Regions from separate parts of the Homo sapiens genome. Here region 1 is linked to region 2. The links are contacts of gene promoters, found by promoter capture Hi-C in human tissues and cell types (Jung and others, 2019). All regions are on one chromosome and are shown on one strand. Each heading gives the region's core, a stretch centred on a gene start or on the middle of the fragment in contact. The rest is flanking DNA. Distances are from core to core; before and after follow the strand shown. Region 1 has its middle 290 kb from the start of LINC01090. Region 2 holds the start of GULP1 (GULP PTB domain containing engulfment adaptor 1).

What was found. Contacts are between HindIII fragments. The study calls those that stand out against the background at their distance.
Region 1: a fragment that was not itself captured here is called in contact with the fragment with the promoter of GULP1 in region 2 in 1 of the 25 tissues and cell types used here (aorta).

What each region holds. Positions count from the first base shown.
Region 1 is chr2:187,994,528-188,000,814 of GRCh38, reverse strand. No RefSeq gene overlaps it. Among named protein-coding and RNA genes, the nearest start is that of LINC01090, 290 kb to the left of the region's middle. The HindIII fragment of the contact is 5,266 bases long and covers 1,798-6,287 here.
Region 2 is chr2:188,289,559-188,296,277 of GRCh38, reverse strand. It overlaps GULP1 (GULP PTB domain containing engulfment adaptor 1), which reads right to left and starts at 4,404. Exons shown (of 12, transcript NM_016315.4): 1 at 4,112-4,404. RefSeq lists an enhancer at 1,669-2,552. The HindIII fragment of the contact is 13,352 bases long and covers 1-6,719 here.

The DNA.
Region 1 (6,287 bases), core at 3,181-5,680, 300 kb after region 2:
ACCAGAACTATGCTGCTTTGGTTACGATAGGCTTGTAGTATCATGCAAAGTCGGGTAATGTGGTGTCTCCAGATTTGTTCTTTTCGCTTAAGACTGCTTTGGCCATTCAGGCTCTTTTTTCATTCCACATGAATTTGAGATTTTTTTTCTAGTTCTGTGAAAAAAAGTGCTGATATTTTGATAGGAATTACATTGAATGTGTAGATTGCTTTGGGCAGTATGGTCATTTTCATGACATTGACTCTTCCAATCCATAAGAACAAGATGTATTTCCATTTGTTTGTGTCACTTATGATTTATTTCAATAGTGTTTTGTAGTTCTGCTTATAGCAATCTTTCACCTCTTTGGTTCAGTAATATTCCTAGTTTTCTTCTTCTTCTTCTTCTTCTTTTTTAAGTTATTGTAAAACGGATTGGGTTCCTGGCTTGATTCTCAGCTGTCAGTGCTACTGATTTATGTACATTGATTTTGTAACCTGAGACTTTACTGAATTCATTTATCAAATTCAGGAGTCTTTTGAAGGAATCTTTGGGTTTTGTAGCTATAAAATCTTACCATTAGTAACCAGAAATAGTTTGACTTTCTTTTTTCCAATTTGGATGCCCTTTATTTCTTTCTCTCGCCCAATTGCTCTGGCTGAGACTTCCAGTACAGTGGTGAATAGAAGAGGTGGAAGTGGGCATCCTGTGTTGTTCCAGTTCTTAGGGGTAACACTTTCAACTTTTCCTCATTCATTGCGATGTTGGCTGTGAATCTGTCATATGTTGCTTTCATTATTTTAGGTATATTCCTTCTATGACTAGTTTTTTGTGCGTTTTTCATAAAGCAATGGTAGAAATTACTGAATGTTTTTTCTGCATTTATTGAGATGATCACATGGTTTTTGTTTGTAATTCTGCTTATGTGATGAATCACATTTATTGACTTGCATATGTTGAACCATCCCCACATCCCTGGGATGACACCGACTTGATCTTGGTGAATTATCTTTGCAATATGCTGTTGGATTCAGTTTGCTAGTATTTTGTTGAGGATTTTTGTATCTATGTTCGTCAAGGATATTAGTGTGTAGTTTTCTTTTTTTGTTATGCCCTTTTCTGGCTTTAGTATCATGGTGATACTGGCTTCATACAAAATTAGGGAGGATTCTCTCCTTTCTCAGTCTTTTGTAATAGTTTTAGTAGAATTGGTACCAATTTTTCTTTGAATGTCTGGTTTAATTTGGCTGTGAATCAGTCTGTTTTTGTTGGCAAGTTTTTTATTATTGATTCAATATCATTGCTTTTTACTGGTCTGTTCAGGATTCCTATTTCTTCCTGATTCAAGCTAGGAGGAGTGTATGTTTCCAGGAATTTATCCATTTCCTCTAGATTTTCTAGTTTTGGGCATAGAGGTGTTCGCAGTAGTCTCAAATGAGCTTTTGCATTTCTGCAGTGTCAGTTGTAATGTCTCCATTTTCATTTCTATTGAGCTTATTTGAATCTTTTTTTGGTTAATGTATCCAGTGGTCTATTGATTTTGTTTATCTTTTCAAAAAACCAACTTTTCATTTCATTGGTCTTTTGTATTTTTTTTTGTTTTCAATTTTATTTAGTTTTGCTCTGATCTTTGTTATTATTTTCTTCTGCTAGATTTGGGTTTAGTTTGTTCTGTTCTTCTAGTTCCTTGAGGCGTGAGGTTAGGTTGTTAATTTGTTGTCTTTCAGGCTTTTTGATGTAGGCATTAGCACTAACCACTTTCCTCTTTTCACTGCTTTTGCTGTAATCCAGAAGTTTTGATAATTTGTATCACTGTTTGTTATCACATATTTCAAAGAATTTTAAAATGTCCATCCTGATTTCATGTTAACCCAAAAATCATTCAGGAGCATATTGCTTAATTTCTATGTATTTGTATAGTTTTGATGGGTTCTTTTGGAATTAATTTCTAGTTTTATTCTGTTGTTGTCTGAGAAGATACTTGACATAATTTTGATTTTAAAAATTTATTAAGTCTTTTTTTGTAGCCTGTGATATAGTCTATCTTGGAGAATGCTTTATGTGCTGATGAAAAGAAGGTATATTCTGCAGTTCTTGGATAGAATATTTTGTAAATATCTGTTAGGTCTATTTGCTCTAGAATATAGTTTAAATCCAGTGTCTCTGTTTACTTTTTCCCTCAATGATCTGTCTATTGCTGTCAGTGGAGTGTTGAAGTCCCGCACTGTTACTGTGTTCTTTTTTGTCTCTTTTCTTAGGTCTAGTAGTAATTGTTTTATAAATTTGGGAGCTCCGTAATTAGATGCATATATATTTAGGATTGTTATACCTTCTTGTTGAATTGATCTTTTTGTATCATTAGATAATTACCTTCTTTGTCTTTTTTTTTTTTTTTTTACTGTTGTTGCTTTAAAGTCCGTTTTATCTGATGTAATCATAGCTACTCCTGCTTTGGTTTCCATTTGTATGGAATCTCTTTTTCCATCCCTTTACCTTGAGTCTATAAAATTTCTTACCAGTCAGATGTGTGTTTTGAAGACAGTAGATATTTGGTTTGTGATTTTTTTTTTTATCCATTCTGCCAATCTGTATTTTTTAAGGGGAGCATTTAGGCTATTTACATTCAATGTTAATATTGAGAAGTAAGTTACTGTGACAGTCAACATGTTGATTGTTACCTAGTTACTTTGTTTCCTTCATTGTGTTATTGTTTTATAAGCCCTGTGAATATTATGCTTTTAAGAGTTTCTATTCTGGTGCATATCAATATTTTGTTTCAAGATTTAGAACTCCTTTTAGCATTGCTTGTAGGGCTGATCTGGTAGTGACAAACTCCCTCAGCATTTGCTTATCTGAAAAAGTGTTTATTTCTCCTTCATTTATGTAACTTAATTTTGGAGGATACAAAATTCTTGGCTATTTTTCTGTTTAAGGAGACTAAAGATAGGACCTCAATCCCTATTAGCTTATAAGGTTTCTGCTGAAAAGTCTGCTCTGAGTCTGATAGGTTTTATTTTATTGGTTACCTGATGCTTCTGTCTCATGTCGCTTAGAATTCTTTCTTTCACATTGACTTTAAATAATCTGATAACTGTATGCCTCGGTGATGTCTTTTTTGCAATGAACTGCCAGGAGTTCTTTGAGTTTCATTTATTTGAGCCATGAAAGTTTCCCTCAATTATTTTCTCAAATAAGTTCTCCAAATGTTTTGCTTTTCCTTCTCCCTCAAGAGCACCAGTGATTCTTAGGTTTGGCCATTTTACATAATCTCATATTTCTTGAAGGCTTTGTTAATATTTTTCTTAATTCTTTTTTCCTAATTTTGGTCTGCTTGGGTTAATTTGAAAGCCTTGTCTTTGAGCTCTGAAATTCTTTCTTCTACTTGATCTAGTCTATTGTTGAAACTTTCCGCTGCATTCTGGGATTCCCTAAGTGTTTCTTTGATTGCCAGAAGTTCTGGTTGGTTTTTCTTTAAAATATCTATCTCTTTAGAAACTTTTTCATTCATATTCTGAATCATTTTTAAAAATTTGTTTATGTTGGTGTCTACCTTTCTCCTGTATCTCCTTGAGTAACTTAATGATCAACCTTTTGATTTCTTTATCTAGTATTGCAAAGAGCTCATCTTGGTTTGGATCCATTGCTGGAGAGCTACTGTGATCTTTTGGGGATGTCATAGAACCCTGCCTTGTCATATTGCCAGAATTCTTTTTCTGGTTTCTTCTTACTTCTTCCAAATATTTTTGAATTTATATTTGATAATTGTATTTTTTAATTTTTTTCCCTTTGAGAATATAACTTTAATGATTATGGTTTATTGTAACATAATTTGCCTCTGAGTGCTTTCAATAATGAAGACTGCATATGAAATCTTTGGTTACAGACAGTCTATGTATAATGGCTTTCTCCAGTGATGGTTGTAGTAGCAGTATACTTGGTGTGTGAAACAGGTTCACTGTCTTCCATGGGACCAGAATAACAGAGGTCTCATGAAGCTTATCTTATTTCCCAGTGGTGTGAAATTCATTCATTCATTCACTCATTCATACATTCATTCATTCATTCATTCTTCCAGTATTCTACTCACTGGGTTGAACAGTTCAAGTTTCGGCCCAGTAAGAAGTGTCTGTAGGTAAAAACTGCTTGCAGCTGAAGCAAGTGGATAAACACAATACCCCAATTGTGGGCAGAGGTCCCAGCCTTGACAGAAACAGCCAGGAGAGTTCTCAGTTAAACACACTGAGGTCTTTACAGGGAGAAGAGAGGGAGCCATCTCAGCTCCCCTACCACACCAGAAGGAAAGCTTTCCACCTCACAGTCACACTTCTGACCCAGTGTTCTGGTTATTCAGATGAGACAGGCACCTCTTTTCAGCTGCAGGAATGCTGATGTTTGGTGTAGAGAGAGATTGTGACTCTACTCCTCATGCAAGCCTGAACCTAGAGTACACTCCTCCTGTGGGGATGTAGTCACCCTGAAGTGTTCCAGAGAGTCTGTCTATGGGTGCACCTATGTCAAAACTCTGTGTGTCTGCAGTGGTGAGTGAGGAGGAGAATAAATTCCCTTCTTCAAAACCCTTCATGAGTACCAGGGCTGCCTGACCACTGGAGATACAGTCATAGACTTTCCCCACTAGGCCCACCAGCACACCTGTGTCTCTGCTGAAAGAAATTTTCCACAAGCGTAAAGTTAGGAAACTCAAGGTCTGCAGTCTGAATTATTTTGTCTCACAAGGTACTCCTTTGATGAGGTGCACCCCCCCTTCCCTTAGGAGTAGGGGATCTGATGATACGGCTCTGATGAGTGGAGGAACACCAGGGCTCTTGTCTCATGCCGAATTAGATAAGGCCACACGGACACACGTGGAGTGGTTTTAAGGAGTAGAGAGTTTAATAGGCAAGAAGGGAGGGAGAAGAAAGAAGGAAGAAGCTCCCCTGTACAGAGACATAAGGAGGAGGGCTCCAAGGCTGAGAGGAGACTCCCTGTGCCACGGAAAAGTGGCTGCTTATATGAGTAGGCTGGAGGAGGTGGTATCTGATTTGCATAGGGCTCTGGGGATTGGTTTGACCAGGCATGTCACTCATGTAGTGCGCGAAAAACCTCGCTCTCACACCCTAGCCTTCTAGTATGCAAATGTGGGGCACCATGATGTTCTACACGTATAGAGATATGTCAGGGTGGCCATGTTGCCAGGCACTTGTGGGGGCAAGGGCAGGGAGAAGAGCATGGGAATTGCCATGTTTTGGTGGACCGAGTTTCTAATGCCCAGCATTTGCATATCAAAGCTTGCTGCCAGGCTCTAAGATCTGGGGCTTTCCTGCTAAACAAGAAACATTTCTGGAGCTGCTTTAAAAGAGACAAAAACTTTCCAAGGACCCCTTTTCCTCTCTATCTGCCTAAAATAATTTCTTAATAACTCCTGTCACACTAAGGGACAGACTACTGTGAATCTTGCTGCTCCTCTGGGTCTTGCTACCCAGTGAAGCTGCCACACTTTAGGCTGGGAATTTCTGCAAGGAATCCAGTGATGTGACTTGTTCTCTAATCTCCCAGCACTGAGTACCAGCGCCAGCTCTGATGAGGGTGGCAGGTGAGTGACACAGACTCTGTGAAATTTCCTTGGTTATAAATAGCCTTAGTATATTGGCTTTCTCAAATGCTAGTTGTAGTAGTAATGAGCTGGTTGTATGGACAGACTCAAGACTTCCTGATTAGCCAGGGTGATGCAGGCAGTGTTGATAGCTGAGGTCATGCAAAAGCTTCCTCCCTTCTTGGTACTGTGTCATTCTGCCTGCAGATGCTATAATGAACTGTGCTGGTTGGCTTCCAGCCAGGAGATGGCACTTGCAAAAGAGCACCAGCTGTGGTAGTAGCATTAGGATTTGTGCTTGCCCTATGTTACACACGGGAGGTACTCTGGTGTCTCAGGCAATGGGTGGGGCCATAGAGCTTCAAAAAGTCCCTGTCCTTTGTGTTAAGCTACTGTGATGAGTGGAGGGGCAAAGCCAGGTGGGGGTTGGGTTAGGCAAGTTCATATTCTGGCTTCACACATGCAGGAGCAAGCAGAGGCCCCAGTGGCATCAGAGGGCAGTTCTCTGGCTACTGAGATAATGTTCCAAGGAGGAGCGCCGCTGCCTCTGCTGCACAAAAGAATCCTCATGTGGAATGGAGGGTAGCAGGCAGCAGTAAGCTCCACCCAGCTCCTATGCACTTGGTGAGTGCATAGTGCTAATGGAACCCACAGTGATCCACTAGCAGCAGCTAGCTGGGGTCCAGGCAGCCTGTGCTTAGAACCCCAAGCTGCCCCA
Region 2 (6,719 bases), core at 3,155-5,654:
AATTTCATATCCCCAGTATTTGAAAGTGAAGCGATTTCTCCATTCAAAGTTATACCATTTTTTCCTCTTCCAATCTGAGTATATTTTATGCTCTTATGGGAAAAAGCTTAAGTTTCCTGATCTCTAAATGCATTAAGGCAAACAATATTAGATCCACCAGCCTCTAATACGTTTAGGGACCAGGGCTCATGGCAGTTATGCAGTTAGCTTCTGTAACTATCTTTGAATTCATTATTATACTGAAATAAAATAACTTTTTTTATTCTTTAGAGGTTTTAGAAAACAAATTGCAATATCGCGAATTGAATCACAAATACATCACTCTGCTAAGTAAAATTTAAATTAAAATCACCTACCATTCATCAATGGAAATAAGAATTTTAAGGATTTCTAATTTAAAATGAAAGGTAAAATTTGACATTTTATATTAAAATTACCCTAATATATCCTCAAACAGCCACTTGTTCAAGGATACCCATAGTGTAAGTTTCAACCCAACTACTATATCCCATATACACGTGCTTTTTACAGATTCACTATTAATTATAATATAAAGTCTAAAAATAAAAGCTATGACTAGGTATTTTAGCAAAAGACTTTATCCTTTAAACAATTTATCTATACTTATTCTGTTTTCTCTAATAAGTTGATCTGTTCACCCGAAAAAGAGTTAAGTTAAACATCCATGACTGTAGCACAGTACAATGAACCATAAAAATATGTAGTATATTTTACTAATTGACATGTCACACTAAAAAGTAAATATTTCACAATGATCATAATGAATCAACAATGAACAGGCTCATAAATTATAGACAGAAACATAGGCAATAAATGATATGTTGGAAAAATGTTTAAGAAGTAAAATAACATGCACAGAAATCACAGAGCTGAGAAGTTCGGTGCTGATTGGAATACAGGCCCGATGATGCATGATATGCATGCAACAAACATTGGCTGGATTTATTAATGAATGGCTCCAAAATCTATCCTCCAAATTCTTAAGGAAATTGTTGTGGCCATTAAGAAAAGAAAGTCTGTTTGTATGTCATAAATATATTTCAGCTTCTCAAGCATTATTTCTGAGAAGAGAGCCAAGTTCTGTGAATATACTTGGTAACTTCTCATAAAGGTAAAATTAAGCTGGACTTTAAAAATAACTGGTCTTGTGTATAAATATAAACTGAAATAAAAATAAATGAATGTGCTAATTGTTCTTTTCTGTTTGAGAAAATGACTCAGCCTTAACCATAACAAAATCTCCCTTATATCCTCAAAAATTAAAATGTATGATTAAATTAAAGCTATGATTAAAATGTAAAAGTGGTAATTTTTATAAATTAGATCCAGATATGTCATTATTACATGGGTATTCAACATAGAAGTATTCCTATTTTATCCCCATAAACTCAACTGAGTCAGCTGAGTCAGAAATCCTATGACCTTTATGTCGAAAAGCCTATTAACATTATTTCATCTCTTTAATTCTCACAATAATCTTGTAATTATGTAAAGGAAAGTTTCTTTACTTTGCAAGTGGAAAAACTGAAATCATAGTCAGGGAAAACATTTGGCTGAGGGTGATTCACAAAGTGAGTCTCAGAAAGCAGGCTAATATTCACAATCTCAAACTCTTAAATACAGAGGAAATATAAACCACATTAGTTTGTTTGTTTGTTTGTTTGTTTTAACCATTTAACCCCTAAGCCCACAATAGTAAACCTACAACCCACCTCTCTGAAGAAAAAAAAAAGAGAGATGAAACATACACAACTTTAATACACAAAGAAGAGTCTGAATTGCAGTTAAGGCTTTGAGTTCCTAGCTGGTTTGGAATTAGGAAGCAGTAAAGGGCAAATGTGTGAAATACTGAGATCATCTCACCTTTTACTTCTTTACATGAAAGAGCAAGATCTGTTTATCAGGATCACTTTTGATAAGCACAAAGAAGTCATGCCGGATACGTTTCTACTTTAATTCCATGACCCAAATCCATGCTAGCTGAGAATACGTAATTGAATTATTCAATTTAGGTAGAAAACCATCTGCTCAAACCCTTAAGTCTTCAATTCTTGCTGCTATGAAAACAAAGTAAGGCCGAAGTCAAGGAATTGAAGTTGCAGCAAACCTCGTCCAAGGAGACAAACAGCAACAAAGTGTGGGCATTTGCAAAGTATGATCAGCACAAACAGCATCAGGCCCCCAGCTATTCCACTGCAACACTGATAAGGAAAGTTCAGACTTTGCTCCTGGAGCCCTTTTTGTAATTTCCTCGGTCATATCCAACTGCACTCTATGCTTAGTTTATTTTTTTGCCAAGAAGACTGATCTTAGCCACCTAAAAATTCTCATTGCAAAAGAAACCTCTTGTTTAAACCCCAAGTGCAACCGACAGCCCCTTTCCAATTAGCCCCTGCAACTTGCCCAGTCTCTTTCATGCCTGGCTACTGAGCTCAGTCTAGTTTGGCTGCCGGCCAGGTTCCTCTCTTTTTTTCCTTGTCAGTCGTAAAAACTTGGAAAACACTCCTGGACAGCTCAAGGAGACCTTTAATTATGCAGTGGGGCAGTACCTTAGCCTGTCTGCTGTTTCCAGCAAAGCCTGTAGTCACCAGCGACTGCACTCTCCCAATTTGTGGGTTTTCCAGCCAAGGCTACTTGTTCATATGGGGGGAAAAGGGAAAGACTGGCAGAGAAAGGGAGCAATTTGCAAATTTGAAGAATTTCCAATTCCTCTGAAAGTTTTCCACTTCCTCACATTCACTCTGTCTAATAATCTCCCTTACTTTAGCACCTAATCACCCATTTTGTAATACAGACACAAAATCATCAGTATTGTCTCCTGCTAGTCCTAGAAATCAGTCATGACTTGAACATTCTCCGTAACTTTTTATTCTCAAATGTTGGTGTAACGTATTTTAAAAGCAGGCACAAAATAAATTTATTAAATCCTTCCTAATTGACTGCATTACACTTTGTCAAACTTGCAGATTGAAATAGTGCATGTAAAATGTCTGATTGCAAATGAGTAAGGCGAGCTCAGTTGGGAAACACTACTAGGACCTAGGGAGGGGTACCTTGACTGCCAGCCCTCACTTACTTGGAGTTTGCCCAGCGTACCAAGTGGACCCGCCAAGCCCAACACCAGCTAAGTCTTCCTTACTCTACCTTGGCACGCTAGTTCCAGCTGCAGCGTCCAGCTTCCTGTTCAAGTCCCATTCAACATCGTAAACACATTCCAAGAAAACCAGCCTGCCCAGAGTTCCCTCCCGCACACAGGGAAGTCAGCGCGGCAGCCGCAGGAGCCTCAGAATAGAGAGAACTGCCTGCTCCGGATTCTGATCCGTGTGGCGAGTGAGGCCACGAGAAGGTGGACCCGGCCAAGCGAATTTAGCAGTCGGAGCGAGAACCCAAGGGCTCATCACCCCCGCCGCGCCTTGCGCCCTCCAGAAGAAGCTACTTGACCCGCGCAGCAGAAGGGTAACCATGTGGACGCCGCCCCTTCCTTTGGGCCCTCCCAGCTCTGAGCTTTAAAGTATCCGCGGCCCGGCCTCGGAGCTTCGCGCCTCCCCACCCCCATGCCCACATTCTCTCCCAGCGCCAACAAAAGGGAGGCTGCCCTGGAAGTTCGCTCCTGGGTCGCCTCGCTGTGACCCGACGATGACTTGCCTGCTCAGCCCAGTCTGATCCACGCACCCTCAGCCGGACGGATCCACGGTTTCCCCACCGCCTCCCTCCAGTTCCTGCTCACCGGCCCCCCGCCGCCGGACCAAAGTTACCACAAAAGGCTAAGGAGGTTTCTGGAGCCCGGAGACCGCTGCGTCCCCGACCTCGCTGGACTCCCCCAGTCATTTCTCAAGCGCTGCCATAGCAGGCGTCAACAGGTCTTAGCCTCCTTTAGTGCTGGACGACTCCCTGAGCATTTAGCTGTCCTAATTTTTTACAACCTGCTGGCCAGCGGCTACGCGCAGCCCCGCGCCCTCCTTCCCGGGCACTGGTGGCCGGAGCTGTCCACCCCCACCGCCCCTCGGGATATCAGCTTCTAAGCGATTCCACGCTACCTGGAGGGAGCCTGGGTTCGCAGCCAGGGAAGAGCCTAGATAAATCTCCGTACCTCACTGAGAGAGGCAGTCGGGTCAGGCTTCGGGCAGGGGCGTGGAGAGCTGCCGGTTCCTCCGAGCCTGGCGATCTCCACTCCGGCACGGCCGGGGCGCCGTCTCCGAGGCCGAGAGGGAAAGTTTCTCTACGCCAACACGGCGCTGGACTCGGGACCCTCCAGCTTCGGTCCCCTCCCTCTTCGCGCTCTCTCCCCCCTCCCTCCTCTTCCTAATCCGCCGAATCCAAAACTGGCGCTGGCGGCAGCTGGGACGCGGGGCTGGGGACTCCGGGTCGCTCCCGGCCGGGAACGCCGGGCTCCCCCTCTCGGTGAGAAGGAAACTCTAGCCGACTCCGGCTTGCGCACTTCTGGCGGTCTCCTTGGACATTTCCACACGGGACGCCTGTGTTCAAGCTCGCTGACTTTCCTTCTTTAATCTCTGATGGTCGTTATCTGTGGGCCCACTGGACTATCTCGCGCGTGCACGCGGAACCGGAGGTGGGTGGAGGGTGGAATGAGAGAGAAACCCATCCGCAGAAGGAGGGGCCCTACCTTACTCAGTCTTCAGCCCGGACAGAAGCAAAACCACAGGCCCCCTCTCCCACCCCACTCGCGCCGCGTTTCCTTTCCAGCCTCTTCCCTGAGACACTAGATCAGGACCATTTGCCTTTTCTTATCTCTGTGTGTTTCCTAACACAATTTTAAAACACCTCTGAGGCTTCATAGAGGGGTAAAGTGTCAAAAGAAATACACGAATAAGAGTAAAACGTGCCGTCTTCACAGCCTTTATCAAGAAAGCAGCCACAGTTGCTGCTGCTCTGGCCGCACCTCAGCGGACTGGTTTGTCCTCATTGGTTTGTCCTCATTTGTTTTTTAACTCGGCCTTAATCTCTGGACTTTGTTATGCCTTAAAACAGACACACACATACACACACTTGAAAATTGCCTTAACCCCCAGATCATACTCATTTGTTCCATTCAGATGTTTACCTCGGAATTAAGGACTTCTGTATAGGATTTGAGAGAAAACACAACAGCCCATTCTTACTGACCTTTGGTAAAGTTCTGCGTGGGAAAGGGAGCAAGAAGGAGTATCCTTATATAAGAAGTTCTTCAAGGATGAGAGGACCTTTACTAAAATTTTTTCTGCTGCTCAGAATTTAGTTTACTAAATTTTAGTTTGAGTGTGAAAATAGATGAGAAAAGGAAAAAGGCATTTTGCAAAGCTAGCAGTTATAATGTATTACAGTGGATCCAGGGCTTAGAGTCAGACAGGCCAGATTCCATTCCAAACTCCATCTTTACGCTTTCTGTGCCTACCAATTATAACTGTCAACAGGAATTCTATAATCTAGCTCACGGAGTCACAGTCACATTTACAGGAGTTAAAATAGAGTTGTGATAGGCGCAGAGAAAATACTCAATAAATATTTGGTTCTTATATCCCACCATGTTTTACTGTAATTAGGAGAGAGGGTGGTGCTAGAAATTTTCCCCCAAAGACCCTGTAACTGAATCAGTTTTCTTCTCCTTAATGCTTTTTCCATTTAAAAAGGCATCATTTCACAATTTTTGAAATGGAAACTATGTTTACAGATTAACTAGTTCCAGCTGAACTCCCTTATTTTAAATACAAGGTAACTGAAGTCTAGGGCTCTTAAGTGACTTTCCCCAAATCTCATGGTTTGGAGGTACTAAAGCTAATATCAGAAATCAGTCCTCATAATAACTTGGCTGGGGTCCTCTTTTAACTGTTTTTCTCTTTATCACAATAGTCAAGCACACATAAAAATAATTATATTAAAAATATTAATCTCAGGACAAATGCTAGTTTTTTTCTGTAAATAACTCTTAAGCAATTAATTTATGAACAATCATTAAAAATTAAATAATGTCATTTAGATGATCACTTGGTATCAATGTGATTATAAAAATAAAACAAATGGTAGTCCAGTATTTAGGAATAAGGAGGTTGATGAGATGAACGAATCCATGCTTACATTATATATTTACACATAGATATTTTGGGTTTTTTAGCCATAATATTAAAAGATTATAATAACTCTCGATTCCCAAGAATACATCAACATACCACTACAGTTGGCTGACCCTAGTTTGTGAACAACTAGATCAGTGTTCAGGACACACAATTCAACTTGAACAAGTTCAAGGCCAAAGAACAAAATCAGGCTACAGAGATCAAACTTTCCATCCTGTGAAATAATGGAAAATCCCATAGCATGTACTTATTTCTCATTCATTTGCCTCTAGTACCTGTAAGAAGGTCTTTTTAAAAAATTCTTCCTTACCATATACAATGTTGAAAATCATCTGAACATTTACATAACTAACTCCCATGTTCTCAGGGATGAGACCCTATATACTCCTTCTAAGTAAGAGTTATTTACTACTCCGGCCTCATCCTCAGTTTCCTAAAGGCATATCATAGCCTCTTTAGAGATCTGTCTTTCCTATCCATAAGACTTGGAAGATCCTAAAGAGGGAAAAAAAAATATGGCTACAAAGCACATCCATCATGAATGGATAAATGAAGATAGATGAGTCCTCATAACTGTCTTTTTCCAATCGTTACATACAGTGCTAAAGATTACTCACTTTTATATTT